Regions from separate parts of the Homo sapiens genome. Here all the other regions are linked to region 1. Evidence: promoter capture Hi-C in 16 types of primary human blood cells and fetal thymus (Javierre and others, 2016). All regions are on one chromosome and are shown on one strand. Each heading gives the region's core, a stretch centred on a gene start or on the middle of the fragment in contact. The rest is flanking DNA. Distances are from core to core; before and after follow the strand shown. Region 1 holds the start of CECR3 (cat eye syndrome chromosome region, candidate 3). Region 2 overlaps CECR2 (CECR2 histone acetyl-lysine reader). Region 3 has its middle 14 kb from the start of CECR2.

What was found. Contacts are between HindIII fragments. The CHiCAGO score rates a contact against its expected background, and 5 or more counts as called.
Region 2: a fragment that was not itself captured here is called in contact with the fragment with the promoter of CECR3 in region 1 in 3 of 17 cell types (M2 macrophages, activated CD4 T cells and M1 macrophages); the score reaches 7.9 in M2 macrophages.
Region 3: a contact is called between a fragment that was not itself captured here and the fragment with the promoter of CECR3 in region 1, in 4 of 17 cell types (M1 macrophages, M2 macrophages, M0 macrophages and 1 more). The highest score is 8.5, in M1 macrophages.

What each region holds. Positions count from the first base shown.
Region 1 is chr22:17,264,162-17,269,215 of GRCh38, forward strand. It overlaps CECR3 (cat eye syndrome chromosome region, candidate 3), which reads right to left and starts at 2,572. Exons shown (of 3, transcript NR_038398.2): 1 at 2,362-2,572. RefSeq lists enhancers at 1-194, 195-1,021. The HindIII fragment of the contact is 21,393 bases long and covers 1-4,855 here.
Region 2 is chr22:17,385,932-17,390,985 of GRCh38, forward strand. All of the region lies in intron 1 of CECR2 (CECR2 histone acetyl-lysine reader), which reads left to right. Among named protein-coding and RNA genes, the nearest start is that of CECR2, 19 kb to the left of the region's middle. The HindIII fragment of the contact is 4,579 bases long and covers 398-4,976 here.
Region 3 is chr22:17,352,946-17,357,999 of GRCh38, forward strand. It overlaps the pseudogene RN7SL843P. Among named protein-coding and RNA genes, the nearest start is that of CECR2, 14 kb to the right of the region's middle. The HindIII fragment of the contact is 5,867 bases long and covers 1-5,054 here.

The DNA of each region.
Region 1 (5,054 bases), core at 1,322-3,821:
GTTCAAGTCAGGCTGGACTCCTTCCACTCTGATCATACATTTGGTTTTACAAAGCGCTGAGCGACAGGAAGAAAGAATGGCTCTTACTGGCCGAGTTGAAGGGCTTCGAGCACATTTTTCTCAACAGCACAATCTGGCTCCCTGACACAAAAGGCAGGGAAAGGAAGGGGCAGCGGCTCCCAATGAACAGAGACGGATGGCGGCCGGGCCTCTGCCGCCACTGCTGTGCCCACTGGGCAGACCAGCCACATCTCCTGGCTCAGGCCAAAGACTAGGGCAGATGACACATGGGGTACTCACAGGAGAGCTGTGCTCAGGGCTTCCTGCTGGCCCCGGAACCTTCCAGAATGGCCTCTCACACACTCCCCGCCCTCCCTCCTTCTCTCTGTCTCTCCCGGAACCTTCCAGAGTGGGCTCTCACACACTCCCCTCCCTCCCTCCTTCTCTGTCTCTCTCTCTCTCTCAGTGAAAGGACTTCCTTGGCAAGAGTGTCAGGTTTCAGTTGTCTGTGTCCTGGGAAATTACAAGATCTTTCCCCTTTCTCTTTTTAGCTAGGATTACACATGCAGAGCCATTTGGCTCCCCTGGCCTGCGCAGCTGCTGCCGGCCGGGCCGGGGGATCATGCCAGGCAGCCCAGCCAGAGGTGAGCTGGGTCACAGGGGTGAGCTGCCAGGCCTGCTCACCCCTCTTCTTGGTGTGATCCCCTCAAGTCCAATCCCCAGGGACCTTCCCCAGGAATGCTGAGAGCACCAGCTGTCCCGGCCATGTCAGGCATCTGGCCACCAGGTCTCCTTCCACTCCAGGGGCAACCACCGCCAGAGGGAAAAACGGAAACACCAGGTTATTTGTGATCTGCATACTCACTCCTCGTTTAGAGAGACAAGCAGGAGGCCAGGGGAATAGATGGGACTGTGGGAACAGCCAAGGGCAGAGGGTGAAGGGCGGCGATCAGAAGGAAAGACGGAATGCCCACACATTCCCTGCCGCTCCCGGCTCCAGCCGTGGAGGAAGCGGGGCTCGGAGGACATTGCACCAGACAGGTCTTGTTTAGAAAATTGGAAAAGAACAAATATTGATTACAAGAGTGCAGGAGAATGGGCCCTTCCATCATCAAAAACAGGTATTCAGCCAGGCGAAGTGACTCACGCTTGTAATCCCAGCACTTTGGGAGGCAAAGGCAGGAGGATCGCTTGGGCCCAAGAGTTTGAGACCAGCCTGGGCAGCATGGTGAAACCCAGTCTCTACAAAAAATACCAAAAATTAGCTGGGTGTGGTGACGTGTCTGTGGTCCCAGCCATTCGGGTGGCTGAGGTGGGAGGATTGCTTGGGCCCGGGAGGTCGAACCATGTTCACACCATGGCATTCCAGCCTGGATGACAGAATGAGACCCTGTTTCTAATAATAACAGTAATAATAATAATAAAATACATACTCACTAGCTATGACTCTGCTTTACAGGATAATTGGGGCAAAAATGTTCTTGGGTGAAACTGGGTAACCTAATTTGAAAGGTCTGGGAAACATGGCCCAATTTCAGCCTCGCTCGCCACTCACAGGCCAAGTGGAGGTTGCGGTTCATAACATACTGGACACTAGACATCACTAATGCCTTCATTCTACAAATGGGAAAACCATGGCTGAGAGGTCACCTGATCTCCCAAGTTCACTCAGAGACGTGGGGATGGGCCGAGCTCCAGAGCCTGGGCCTTGCCCTGCTCCACCCCATACAGCACGAAGTTCCCTGGCCAACTAAGGAAGGAGTGCAAGGTGACTGAAGAAAACAAAAACAAACAGAACTGACACAAAAAACAAACAAACAAAACTGAGTGCCAAAGAAGGAGAATTTGGGGGCTGAGGCTGTGGCTGCAGAGTGGGAGTGGGGATAATCAACGCTGGGCTCCTGAGTGTCTCTGGAAGGGCGGGCCCTGGTGTCCAGAGCGCCTGGTGCCCACCTTCCCCTTTCCCCCAGGGCCCCTGTCTGAGAGCTCTTCTACCCACTCCTGGCTGCTGGGGCACCTGATATTTTCCAAAACACAATTTTCACACCCTTAATAGTGGGCTGCGGAGGAGTCAGGATCAGAGCCTCTAGCTCAGATTTCCTTCCCTGAAAGGATACGGTCTTAGAAACTGCATGCTGTGCAGAGTCCTATCATTCAGAAGAAACACAAAACCCAAGCCCTGGGGAGTCACGTGGCCACCACGGATGCCCCGGCCTCGGACTAAGCTAAGGGCATTAGCCCGGGTGGCCTGTAGCTGCTCTGCAGCTCTGATCAGTCCTACAGACACATGGCACCCCCCACCTGTCACCTTTAGGACCCTCCAGTCAGGCCCCCTTAAGATGCAGTGTTCCCCATGCTCACCTTTGAGGCTTACTCTGCTGCTAAGGAAACAGCATGCAACTTCCCAGGGTTATGAGAAATAATTTTCCTAGGAATGTCACCAGCTGCAGACGCCCCTGTCATAAACTGTCCCAGCTCTAAGCCGCCTAGGGCTTTTATCCCCTCCTCTTAGCTACTCATTACCCAGCTTAATTAGGCCAGGAAATGCTGGCGCTGAAGACACTCTCGGCAGGAGGCAGGGCTGGAGGAGAGATTCTCAGCAGCGCCACTTCCTGAGGCTTGATCTGGGGGCTGGGGAAGGCTGTGGAGGAGGTCGGCTGGGGATGGCAGGCTGCGTCCTCCAGTGAACAGCTGCTGGGAACGAAGCAGGGATGCACGCATTTGCTCCCCAGGCCCTCCAGGGAGCTGAGGGTTGCACTTGTTTACGGTAACAGCACCGGATCTGAAGGCCTTGGAAGGCTCTGCCTGCCCCCACCCCAACCCTCCCATCTCAATTAACCAGCTTCACCACCCCACCCCCACTCTTTCCTAGGGAAGAGGTTGAAACCTCAGTTACCACTCACAATATTTCAGCCCCAACCCTGACATAATCACAGTCAAAGACCCAGCCTGAGATGCCTTCCATTTTCAGCCAGCCCCTGACCTTCACCCTGAACCACCTTGGTCATGCACAACCTCCTGGTTCTTCACTAGGTGGAACACAGGAATGGGGTTGCCTGCTATAGAGCTGTATGTGCTTCACCCAGTTTTGGAGCTTTCTGCTCCAGTGGCGTTGGAAGGGGAGTAGCAATGTTGAGGGTTCATAGAATGGGGTTTATATCAGACAGATGGGGGTCTAGACTGTAGCTCTGCCCCAGGTCATTCTGTGACCTTGAATATGCTATTTCATTTTTCTGCACCTAAGTTTCTTTAGCTGCAAAAATGGGGGTGCTAATATCGGCTTCTTGGGAGGTTGAGATGATCTTATATCCTTATAGTAGACACAGGCAAATGTTCAGTAAGAAGTGGCCGGTATCTCCGATGTGGGGCACTAGTTCAGAGGCCTGCAGTTACCAACTTTTCTTTGCTGGGAGGTATGGAAAGGGGAAAACTAGTATTAATGAGATCCCGCTATCTGTGGAAGGTATTCATACTTACACGATTTTCCTTTCATTTCCCAATTATCTGTGGAGGCTTTGAGATTTAAATGAGTAAACTGAGGCTCGGAGAGGGTAGGAGGGTGAGTCATGCCTCATGAGTGGCAGAGCAGATCATACAACAGGGCTACGGCAGATGCCCAGGGCTGCTGAGTCTGGGACTGCTTCGTGGCCTGGAAATGTCAGAATGACACCAGTCTAGGCCAGGCGCAGTGGCTCAGGTCTGTAGTCCCAGGACTTGGGGAGGCCGAGGTGGGCGGATCACTTGAGGTCAGGAGTTCGAAACCAGCCTGGCCAATATGGTGAAACCCGTCTCTACTAAAAATTCAAAAATTAGCCAGTTGTGTTGTTGGGCGCCTATAGTCCCAGTACTCAGGAGCCTGAGGCACAAGAATCGCTTGGACCCGGAAGGCAGAGGCTGCAGTGAGCTGAGATCAAACCATTGCATTCCAGCCTGGGCGTCAGAGCGAGACTTATCTCAAACAAACAAACAAACAAAAGAATCACACCAGCCTAGAGCGAGTAGGATGACTAGAATCTCAGCAGCCACAGCACCAGGTGGATCATCGCCCTGGAGAGGGGAATATGAGGGCTGAGTCACAGTGTCATCCAAAAAGGACTTGTCAGCCTCTGCAGAGGCTGCCTCTCACCTGCGGAACACGTACCCACTGTGCTGTAAGTCCTGGAGCAATTTGCTTCAGCCTTCTCAGGTGTATGGTTTTATGCCTTGGCTTTTCCATTGTGTCCACATTTTCTCAGAAAATGCAAACTTCTTGAGAAGTGACCTCATTTCCCTCACCTGCAGCAAGACAAACGTAATTCTTGGCACTCAGATATGCAATAGTGCTGTGATTTTAACTTTTCTATGTAACTGTAACTTTGAAAAGTACTCTCCCATTCCACCAAGCAAAAAAAGAAAAAAAAAAAAAAGCCCCAGGGCAGGGGTGGAGGGATTGGGGCGTAAGGGGAACCTCCAATTCCATCCAGAGGAGGGCACTAGTCCATCTGCTCAGGCCCTCCACACATCGAGGTGCTCCTAGGTCCCCAAGAAAATCTCTTGATCCACCCAAAGAATCCCAAACTACTGACCATTGGTTTCCAAGGTCCATGAGTCATGACACTCTTAGACTTACTTAGCTGGTAAGATGCTTCTCATTTGAAAAACACAAAATCAAGAAAGCTCCTGGCTGAGCAGCTAGAGGCATAAGAAACCTTGGAATCCTAAACCATCAGGGTCTCTGGCTTTGTCAGTCTCTGTTGGGATCCTAGATAAGTGAAGTCAGGGGTAAAGAAAATAAATCGGCAGCTTCCCAGGGTGCTGGAAAGGCTGTCAGGCAGAACTTCCTTCCATGTGGCTCCAGGGAGCAGAACTTGGGTAAAGCTTCAGAAAGGCCGCTGTGGGCTTCACATGCAGCTGTTCCTAACCCCTGGGGCTGTCAGGAATTCTGTCTTGCTAAGGAAGGAAGGCCAGGCAGTGCAGGTGCAGGTGGGGGTTCTGGGGAGGTGGGTGCTGGGGGACTGTGCACCGAGGAAGATGTGGGGCCCTCAGGGTCACACCTCCCACCCCCAGAATTCTAC
Region 2 (5,054 bases), core at 1,437-3,936, 120 kb after region 1:
TGTGATGAAGGTTGCGTCGCTTAGGATATTTTTGGCTGCGAATGATGGAATAACAGTGCCTTCAGCACTGCGGATTACCCTACATCATGTAAGCCGGAGGAATGGGGCTCCTGGCAGGCCAGGCAGCCCCATGGTAGGTGTCATTGAGCCCTCATACGGTGGTACCACTCATGGTCACAGGACAGACTCCGCAGCGACAAGGTCTGCATTGCTGAATGATGCAGAGAAGTATTAGGAAAATGACAACGGAAAAGAGCCTTTGAGTTGGTGATTTGAAGGGGTCAAAGATGACTTCGGAGAAGGGATTTGAGTTACTCTGACCGGAGAGGGAGAGGCTGAGACTTAAAAAAACTTCATTCTGCTGGAAGGAGAGAGGATAAGACCTGTCAAACAGAGAAGCTTAAGAGCATGGTGAGAAAGGAAGGGCGTTTTAAAAAAAAACTTTTTTCACAAAGAATATATAGCGATTGTAACAAGAAGAAGTTAAATTAATCTCAGTTCCTTCATTTGGTGTTGTATTGAAGAGGTCAGTTGTAGGGCCCCCTTTCTCAGCCTGTTTCCAAACTCTGCGCCATGTTTTATACCAGTAATCAATCCCCTTCTTTGTGCCACCGCTCTCTAATTGTTGGGATGTGGTTATGTCACCCTAGGACTGTCAGTTGCTCAGTATTTTAGCTTTCTGTTGAGTAAAATGGAAATGAAAATCCAGCCACAGAAATGTGCCTTTTTTTTTTTTTTTGAGACGGAGTTTCACTCTTGTCCAGGCTCGAGTGCAATGGCGGGATCTCAGCTCACTGCAACCTCCACCTCCTGGGTTCAAGCCATTGCCCTGTCTCAGCCTCCCAAGTAGCTGGGATTACAGGCGCATGCCACCACGCCCAGCTAATTTTTGTAATTGTAGTAGAGACAGGGTTTCATCATATTGGTCAGGCTGGTCTCGAACTCCTGAACTCAGGTGATCCACCCGCCTCAGCCTCCTACAGTGCTGGGATTACAGGTGTGAGCCACTGTACCTGGTCAGAGATGTGCCTTTCTTTCATTAGAATTTTAGATTTATTCTTGTTTGACTGTTGATTGTTTGGAATACTTCAGTTTTTAGTTTCTCTCTGTTACATGTTTAATGTTTTGTAGGACTACTAAATGTTACTTTGTGATCCTTTTGTAATGATAATTTGTATACAAATAAGCTATTCAGGTATTTATGTTCTGTGTTATGTTTAATAACAGGTTCCCCATGCCAGAGGGAGTTACAGCTCAACAGAAAGCCTTCTTTTGTCTCATTTCTCCACTGGTTCTACAGAAATTTTCAGAGGTTATCTGGCAGCTGTACCTGCCCCTCCTTGCCCTTGTCAAGCAAATCTATATCTTGGCCAGTAATCTATAACACATCTCGCAAGAAAAGATGAACTGGGCCAATGAAATTTCCATTCTTGGGAGCGTAACCTAGGAAATACAAGGATTATCGAGTTAGCGTGGAAAAGAAGCTGAAAGGTCATGGTGAGCAGCCACGACACAGCCAGAATCTTACAGATGAGGAAGCAAGCCTGGGAGAGACCCAGCCATAGAGGAATTAACGAGAAGGCCCCGGCTCCAGCCTGCTGGCGTGTGTCCAGCAGGAGCCACCACACCTGAGGGAGTCTTCCATGCCCTGCCCCTCAAAGAGCCTAACACTTCCTCACTTTTGTCTGTGTGCACATAACATGTTAAGTATCTTGTAAACACAAGATCGTACTTTTCTATATGCTTCTGAATCCTGTTCTATTCTGTTGACAGTGTTATATAACAGAATGCCCTTTCAATCACAGCACGCCATGATTTCCAGTAGCTGCAGAATACTCATCGGGTAGAGGGACTCTCATTTAGCCAAGGGGCGTTTGGGTTATCTGTAGTTGTTTACTATCATGACAACCAAGAACCAGAACAATTTTTTTTTCTAAGATAGGATTAGTGTTTTTAATCATTAGACTTCTGTTAGTATTACATTCTATATTTGAGGTTTTAAGTTTTGAGTTTTTTTTTTGTTTGTTTTTTGTTTTGTCCCGAGAGGGAGTCTGTCTCTGTCGCCCAGGCTGGAGTGCAGTGGTGCCATCTGGGCTCGCTGTAACCTCTGCCTCCCAGGTTCAAGTAATTCTCCTGCTTCAGCCTCCCAAGTAGCTGGAACTACAGGCACGCTCCACCATGCCTGGCTGATGTTTATATTTTTAGTAGAGACGGGTTTCACCAAGTTGGCCAGGCTGGTCTCAAACTCCTGACCTCAGGTGATCCGCCCGCCTCAGCCTCCCAACGTGCTGGGATTACAGGCATGAGCCACCGCGCCTGGCCAAGTTTTCTTCATAGTTACTTTTTGTTTTATATTTTATCATAAAAGTTACATGAATTTTGGTGCCATGCACTGTCTCAAGTGTTTCTCATGCCCGAACTGACCCATCTGTTTAATTCCCCCATGAGGCAGGCATCACCATGACAGCACTGTAGGAAACAGGCTCAGAGTGAAGCGATTTACCCAAGGCCGCATGCCCAGCGGGTGGCAGAACCCATACCGGCAGACTTCAGGAAAATGCGGAGGCATTTTTTGGTAAATGAATTGAACAGTACTGCTAGTGAGACAGGAAAACTGACATCCAGTGCGGGTTCTTGAGAGTATATGGGAAGGTGGGTGAGATTAAATTTTAGCTAGTGTCGTGGTATTAGAAAGGAATCTTTTACGCAATTTACGGAGAACACTGAGTCAGGAGACATTTTAGAAGTGAAAGCAATTCAGTTTTTTCTTCACTTGCTTAAATTACTTACAAAATATGTTAATAACTGTTAAGAGCTCCTTTTATCATTTTTCCACTCTACTGTAACTCTGGGTTGGGTTTTTTAAAAACTTTGTTTATTTTATTTTAGTATTTTTTTTTGAGGTGGAGTCTCACTCTGTCGCCCAGGCTGGAGTGCAGTGGCACGATCTCAGCTCACTGCAGCCTCAGCCTCCGGGTTCAAGCAGTTCTCCTGCTTCAGCCTCTCGAGTAGCTGGAACTACAGGCACACTCCACCATGCCCGGATAACTTTTGTATTTTTAGTAGAGACGGGGTTTCACCATGTTGGCCAGGCTGGTCTCGAACTCCCTGAATTCAAGTGATCCACCCTCCTTGGCCTCCCAAAGTGCTGGGATTACAGGTGTGAGCCACTGCGCCCGGCCTTAAAAACTTTATTTTTAAGTAATGTCAGACTTAACGGAAACTTAGAAGGCTGGTACACAGAATTCCTAAGCTCCCTACCCAGATTCCCCACGTGTTCAGTTTTACACCATGTGCTTTACTGCCATCTCCCTCTTTCTCCCCACCAAGCTATCTTCATAGTTACTTTTTGTTTTATATTTTATCATAAAAGTTACATGAATTTTGGTACCATTCTCTTCTGTCTCCCAACTGCCTGCCTGCCTGTCCGGCTAGCTAGCTAGGCATCTCTAGCTGTGTAATTACTGTTTTTCTACACTGAGAATAAGTTGAAGACGTGATACCTTTCACTCCTTGACATTTTAGTGTTTTTATGACTTAAAAACATTGTTTTTTTCTTTTGAGGTGGGGTCTCACGCTGTGTTGCCCAGGTTGGTCTTGAACTCCTGGGCTCAAGCAATCCTTCTGACTCAGCCTCCCAAGTAGCTAGGACTACAAGCATGAGCCGCCACGCCCAGCTCGGGGATATTCTTTTTTATTTATTTATTTATTTTTGAGATGGAGTCTCACTCTGTTGCCCAGGCTGGAGTTCAGTGGCACGATCTTGGCTCACTGCAACCTCCGCCTCCTGGGTTAGAGCAGTTCTCCTGCCTCAGCCTCCCAAGTAGCTGGGACTACAGGCATGCGCCACAACGCCCGGCTAATTTTTGTGTTTTTAGTAGAGACGGGGTTTTGCCATGTTAGCCAGGCTGGTCTTGAACTCCTGACCTCAGATGATCCGCCCACCTCGGCGTCCCAAAATGCTGGGATTACAGGCATGAGCCACTGTGCCTGGCCGGAATATTCTCTTATACATATAAGTACAATTATTAAAATCAGGAACTTAATACTGAGTAAGATCTGTAGATAATAGTATATCAAATGTTGCCAATTGAGCCAATAATATATATAATTTGTACATTATTTTTATGAATTTTAAATATATTATTATTTTAGAAATTGTTTCTGGTTCAGGTTTTCAGTCTAGGATCAGGCATTCCATTAGTTGTTGAGTCTCTTTAGTCTCCTTTAAAATAGAGCCGTTTTTCAGTGTTTGTCTTTCTTGAGCTTGACCTTTTTGGAAGACTAAAAGCCATTCATTCTATTGACGGTCCCTCCACTTGGGCTTGTTGGAAGTCCTCTCAGGATAACTTGGGTCATGTGTTTTTGGCGGGAGTGCTGAAGAGGGCCGTGCCCTTGGTGCATAGTATCAGCAGTTACATCACTTTCATTGTGCCCTTTATTGGTGGTGGTTACTAACTTTGATCACTTGGTTAGGGTGATGTCTGCTTTCCACTGCAAAGTTACTGTTTTTCTCTTATAATTAACAAGTACGTTGTGGGGAGATACTTTGCAAACATCCTGTTTCTTCTCCAAATTAACCCGTTAGGAATTGCCTGAATCAGTGATTACATCACAGTTGCCAGATTCCTTTTTACAAGTTGGCGTGCAGTTTTCATCCATAAAGTTTAAGCGTTTGATTCTAAACCAGGTGTTTTTATTTTGTTTTGTTTTGTTTTGTTTTTTGAGACAGGTCTTGGTCTGTTGCCGAAAGTGGAGTGCAGTGGCACCATCATAGCTCAGCAGCCTCAACCTCGCCGGTCCCAAAGTGCTTGAATGACAGGCGTGAGCCACCACTCCTGACCCAAAACCATTTGTTTTTAATATCTGATAAAAATATAATTTATAAAAAGACTTTGATTTTTTTAACTTTGAAAATTAATCTAAAGGAGATGAACACTGATAAACAATGTTCAGAAAGTGAAATTACTTTTTAAAGCTTCAGCTTTTTAAAGCTTTTCCTATTTTATTTTGAGAATTTTCAGATGTTCGGTGAAGTTCAAAGATAAGTGAAC
Region 3 (5,054 bases), core at 1,531-4,030, 89 kb after region 1:
GCTGATCAGCATAGGACCTTTGACTCTTCTGTTTCTGACCTGAACCCATTCACCCCTCGTTGGGCAACCTCCTGGTTCTCTGCTCCCAGGAGGTCACCATACTGATGTTGAACCTAGTGTGAATACCCAGTTGGCATAGTGAACTATAGCCCAGAACTCCCAAGCTAAACTGATCCTCCCGCCTCAGCCCCCCATGTAGCTGAGGCCGCAGGCATGTACTATCACACCTGGCTATGTTTTTTTTTTCCGTAGAGACAGGGTCTCACTATTTTGCTCAGGCTGTTCTTGAAACCCTGGGCTCAATCAATCCTCCTGCCTCGGCCTCCCAAAGTGCTGAGATTATAGACATGAGCCACTGCAGCCAGAATATTTTTGTTGTTGTTGTCGTTTTGTTTTGTTTTTTGATTTTTTTAATTATACTTTTAAGTTCCAGGGTACAAGCGCACAACGTGCAGGTTTGTTACATATGTATACGTGTTCCATGTTGGTGTGTGCAGCCAGAATTTTTTTTTTTTTTTGAGATGGAGTCTCGCTCTGTCACCCAGGCTAGAGTGCAGTGGCGCGATCTCGGCTCACTGCCAGCTCTGCCTCCCGGGTTCATGCCATTCTCCTGCCTCAGCCTCCCGAGTAGCTGGGATTACAGGCGTCTGCCACCACACCCGGCTAAATTTTTGTATTTTTAGTAGAGATGGGGTTTCACCGTGTTAGCCAGGATGGTCCCGATCTCCTGACCTCGTGATCTGCCCACCTCGGCCTCCCAAAGTGCTGGGATTACAGGCGTGAGCCACCGCGCCCAGCGCAGCCAGAATGTTTTTAGAGGTCATCACACATTAGCTAATGTTTCTGTGGTTTAGGAGGGCACGTCAGAAGCTGTCTTCTGGACTGACTGCGATTTACCAGGAATGCCATGTTTTTTAGCATGATTAAACCTAACAGCATAATCATATCCATCTCTATGCAAGAATAACCACAGTTGTCACAGGGTGCCCCCCATCCTTTTCCTTTTTCACCAACAGGTCTCTTCCTACTAAATGTCCAAAAACCTTTTAGTTTTTCAGCCACGCAAAGACAAGAATCTCACAGACTCTGCTTCAGTTGTCGTTAATGAAGATAGAAGGTGATAGGGAAACCTGATTAACTTTAAAAATAATGAAAGTATACACATAATAGATTTGAAGTTCATAGGAATTTCTAGGTCTTCAACTCTTACAACAATGCTTAAAACATAGTAACTGTTTAGTAAATATTTATGGGGGAATAATATGAAAATTATTATTCATATTATTATTCCCCAAAATATGGGGAAAAATATGATTGGGGAAATCAAATTGGAAAACAATGTCAATCCCACAGTTGTATTCATAAAAAGGAAAATTTTTTTCTTTCCTTCTTTTTTTTTATTTTTATTTTTTGTGAGACAGAGTCTCACTCTCTCACCCCCATTGGAGTGCAGTTGTGTGATCTCACTGCAACCTCTGCCTCCTGGGTTCAATGATTCTCCTGCTTCAACCTCCTGAGTAGCTGGGATTACAGGTGCACGCCACCATGCCGGCTACTTTTTGTATTTTTAGTAGAGACAGGATTTCACCATGTTGGCCAGGCTGGTCTCAAACTCCTGGCCTCAAGTGATCTGCCCACCTCAGCCTCCCAAAGTGCTGAGATTACAGGCGTGAGCCACCGGGCCTGACCAAATTTTTTCTTTTTGGGGTAAAATAATGAGTATAGCTTATACAGACTAGGACTTTGTGTATTGTAATAAATAAGACAAATAGTTTTTACTGTAATTGGTGCAGGTAGCTTTAGGCTATATAATTATTTACTCCTCATCTTAAGTTAAAAGCAAGGGAAGTTAATTTCCATGTTCCTCTTTTTATTTTTTTTTTTTTTGAGACGGAGTCTCACTCTCTAAGCCCAGGTTAGAGTGCAGTGGCACCACTCAGTGCAACCTCTGCCTCCTGGGTTCAAGTAATTCTCCACTAAAAACACAAAAATAAGCCGAATTAGCCGGCCGTGTGGTAGGCGCCTATAATCCCAGCTACTCAGGAGGCTGAGGCAGGAGAATTGCTTGAACCCGGGAGGCGGAGGATGCAGTGAGCGGAAATCATGCCATTGCACTCCAGCCTGGGTGACAGAGTGAGACTCCATCTCAAAAAAAAATTAAAAAGATAGGCGGGACGCAGTGGCTCATGCCTGTAGTCTCAGGACTTTGGGAGGCCAAGGAGTGGATCACCTGAGGTCAGGAGTTTGAGACCAGCCTGGTCAAGACGGTGAAATCCCGTCTCTACTAATAATACAAAAATTAGCCTAGTGTGGTGGTGCATGCCTGTAATTCCAGCTACTCGGGAGGCTGAGGCAGGAGAATCAATTGAACCTGGGAGGCAGAGGTTGCAGTGAGCCGAGACTGCATTGCTCTCCAGCAACAAGAGTGAAACTCTGTCTCCAAAAATAAACATAAAAAATAAAAAAAGGGCCGGGCGCGGTGGCTCACGCCTGTAATCCCAGCACTTTGGGAGGCCGAGGCGGGTGGATCATGAGGTCAGGAGATCGAGACCATCCTGGCTAACAAGGTGAAACCCCGTCTCTACTAAAAATACAAAAAATTAGCCAGGCGCGGTGGCGGGCGCCTGTAGTCCCAGCTACTCGGGAGGCTGAGGCAGGAGAATGGCGTGAACCTGGGAAGCGGAGCTTGCAGTGAGCCGAGATTGCGCCACTGCAGTCCACAGTCCCGCCTGGGCAACAGAGCGAGACTCCGTCTCAAAAATAAATAAATAAATAAATAAAAATAAAAAAAGTGGCCAGGCGTGGTGGCTCACGCCTGTAATCCCATCACTTTGGGAGGCCGAGGCGGGTGGATCATGAGGTCAGGAGTTCATGACAATCCTGGCCAAGATGATGAAACCCCATCTCTACTAAAAATACAAAAATTAGCCGGGTGTGGTGGCAGGTGCCTGTAATCCCAGCTACTTGGGAGGCTGAGGCAGGAGAACCGCTTGAACACGGGAGGCGGAGGTGGCAGTGAGCCAAAATCGCACCACTACACTCCAGCCTGGGCAACAGAGCAAGACTCCATCTCAAAATAAAATAAAATAAAATAAAATAAAATAAAATAAAATAAAATAAAAAAAGTAAAGATAGAGATGGGGTCGCTGGGGTCTCGCTATGTTGACCAGGCTGGTCTCAAACTCCTGGCCTCAAGCGATCCTCCCATCTTGGCCTCCTAAAGTGTTGAGATTACAGGTGACAGCCACTGTGCCCGGCCCGCAGATTTTTCGTTTGTTTTTTGAGACAGACTCTCGCTCTGTTGATCAGGCTAGAGGAGTGCAGTGGCATGATCTTGGTTCACTGCAACCTCCACCTCCTGGGTTCAAATGATTCTCATGCCTCACCTTCCGGAGTAGCTGGGACTACAGACACGTGCCACCATGCCCAGTTAATTTTTTTGTACTTTTAGTAGAGACGGGGTTTTGCCATGTTGGACAGGCTGGTCTTGAACTCCTGACCCCAAGTGATCCTTTCACCTTGGTCTCCCAAAGTGCTGGGATTACAGGCATGAGCCACCACAGCGAGCCTAGAATGCCAGATCTTTTGAATGAATCCTACAAGACTGCTCTTGCCTTTTCACTATATTGCCTTCTCTACTACATATCACTTCATTATTTTTATTATTTTTCTGAGATGGAGTCTCGCTCTGTTGCTCAGGCTGGAGTGCAGTGGCACAGTCTTGGCTCACTGCAACCTCCACCTTCCGGGTTCAAGCAATTCTCCTGCCTCAGCCTCCCACGTAGCTGGGATTACAAGCACATGCCACCATGCCCAGCTAATTTTTGTATTTTTAGTAGAGACAGGGTTTCACCATATTGACCAGGCTGGTCTCAAACTTCAGACCTCAAGTAATCTGCCCTCTTCAGCCTCCCAAAGTTCTGGGATTACAGGCGTGAGCCACTGCACCCAGCCTAAATATCACTTTAAGTTTAAAAATTATTTCTAAACTAATTGCTTTTGAATTTAATAAAATCTTTATTTATTTATTTATTTATTTTTGAGATGGAGTCTCGCCCTGTGGCCCAGGCTAGAGTGCAATGGTGTGATCTGTGCTCACTGCAACCTCTGCCTCTTGGGTTCAAACGATTCTCCTGCCTCAGCCTCCCGAGTAGCTGGGACTACAGGCACCCAACACCACACCCAGCTACTTTTCGTATTTTTAGTAGAGACAGGATTTCACCATATTGGCCAGGGTGGTCTCGAACTCCTGACCTCGTGATCCGCCCGCCTCGGCCTCCCAAAGTGCTGGGATTATAGGCGTGAGCCACTGCACTGCACTCAGCCTACAATTTTATTGAAGTTTTTATATCCTGGATAAAGATAGCTAACTGTGTTTCTCACCAATTCAAGCCCCGTCTTCCTCATGAAGCATTTCCCAAACATTCTAGCTCACACTAAAAATTTTCTTCTTTGAGTTCCTTCCTCTAAAAGGAGCAATTGACTAGATTATTTCTAACACTTTATAACTTTAACACTATGTAGTATACTTATAGTCTATACTACACAGACAATCTTACTATTTTACCAATTGCATTAAAAACTCCCTGAGACCAGAGACTCAATTTTCTACCCAAATGTGTATTTCCATGTTGAATGAAATGAACTGAAGAAATAACTCAGGCCCAGCTAAAGAGTTTGAGTCCAGATGTGTACAACCCTGGGCACTTTGTCCACCAAAATAATGCGACCTTTAAACTGAGTAGGGATGGTTGGAGGCCAAAGGAATGACACAAGGACCTAAAATAATTAAAAAGAAAGAGAAATTTGGATTGTAGCCCTTTTGAAAAGAGATTAAGGAAGAACGCATTAAGATTCACCACCTTCTGAATGGCACTGAGAATTGAGATGCTACAAAGCTGTTTGACCTGGTGTCAAGCACAAGGGAAGATGCCACAATGAGATAGGCCAGAGCTGGACACTCCAGGAATTCAAAGAGGAATTCTGGAACAGAGCAGCATGAACAGGGACTAAGCAACCCAGGAGCAGCAAGAGAGCTGATTCTTAGAGTTTTT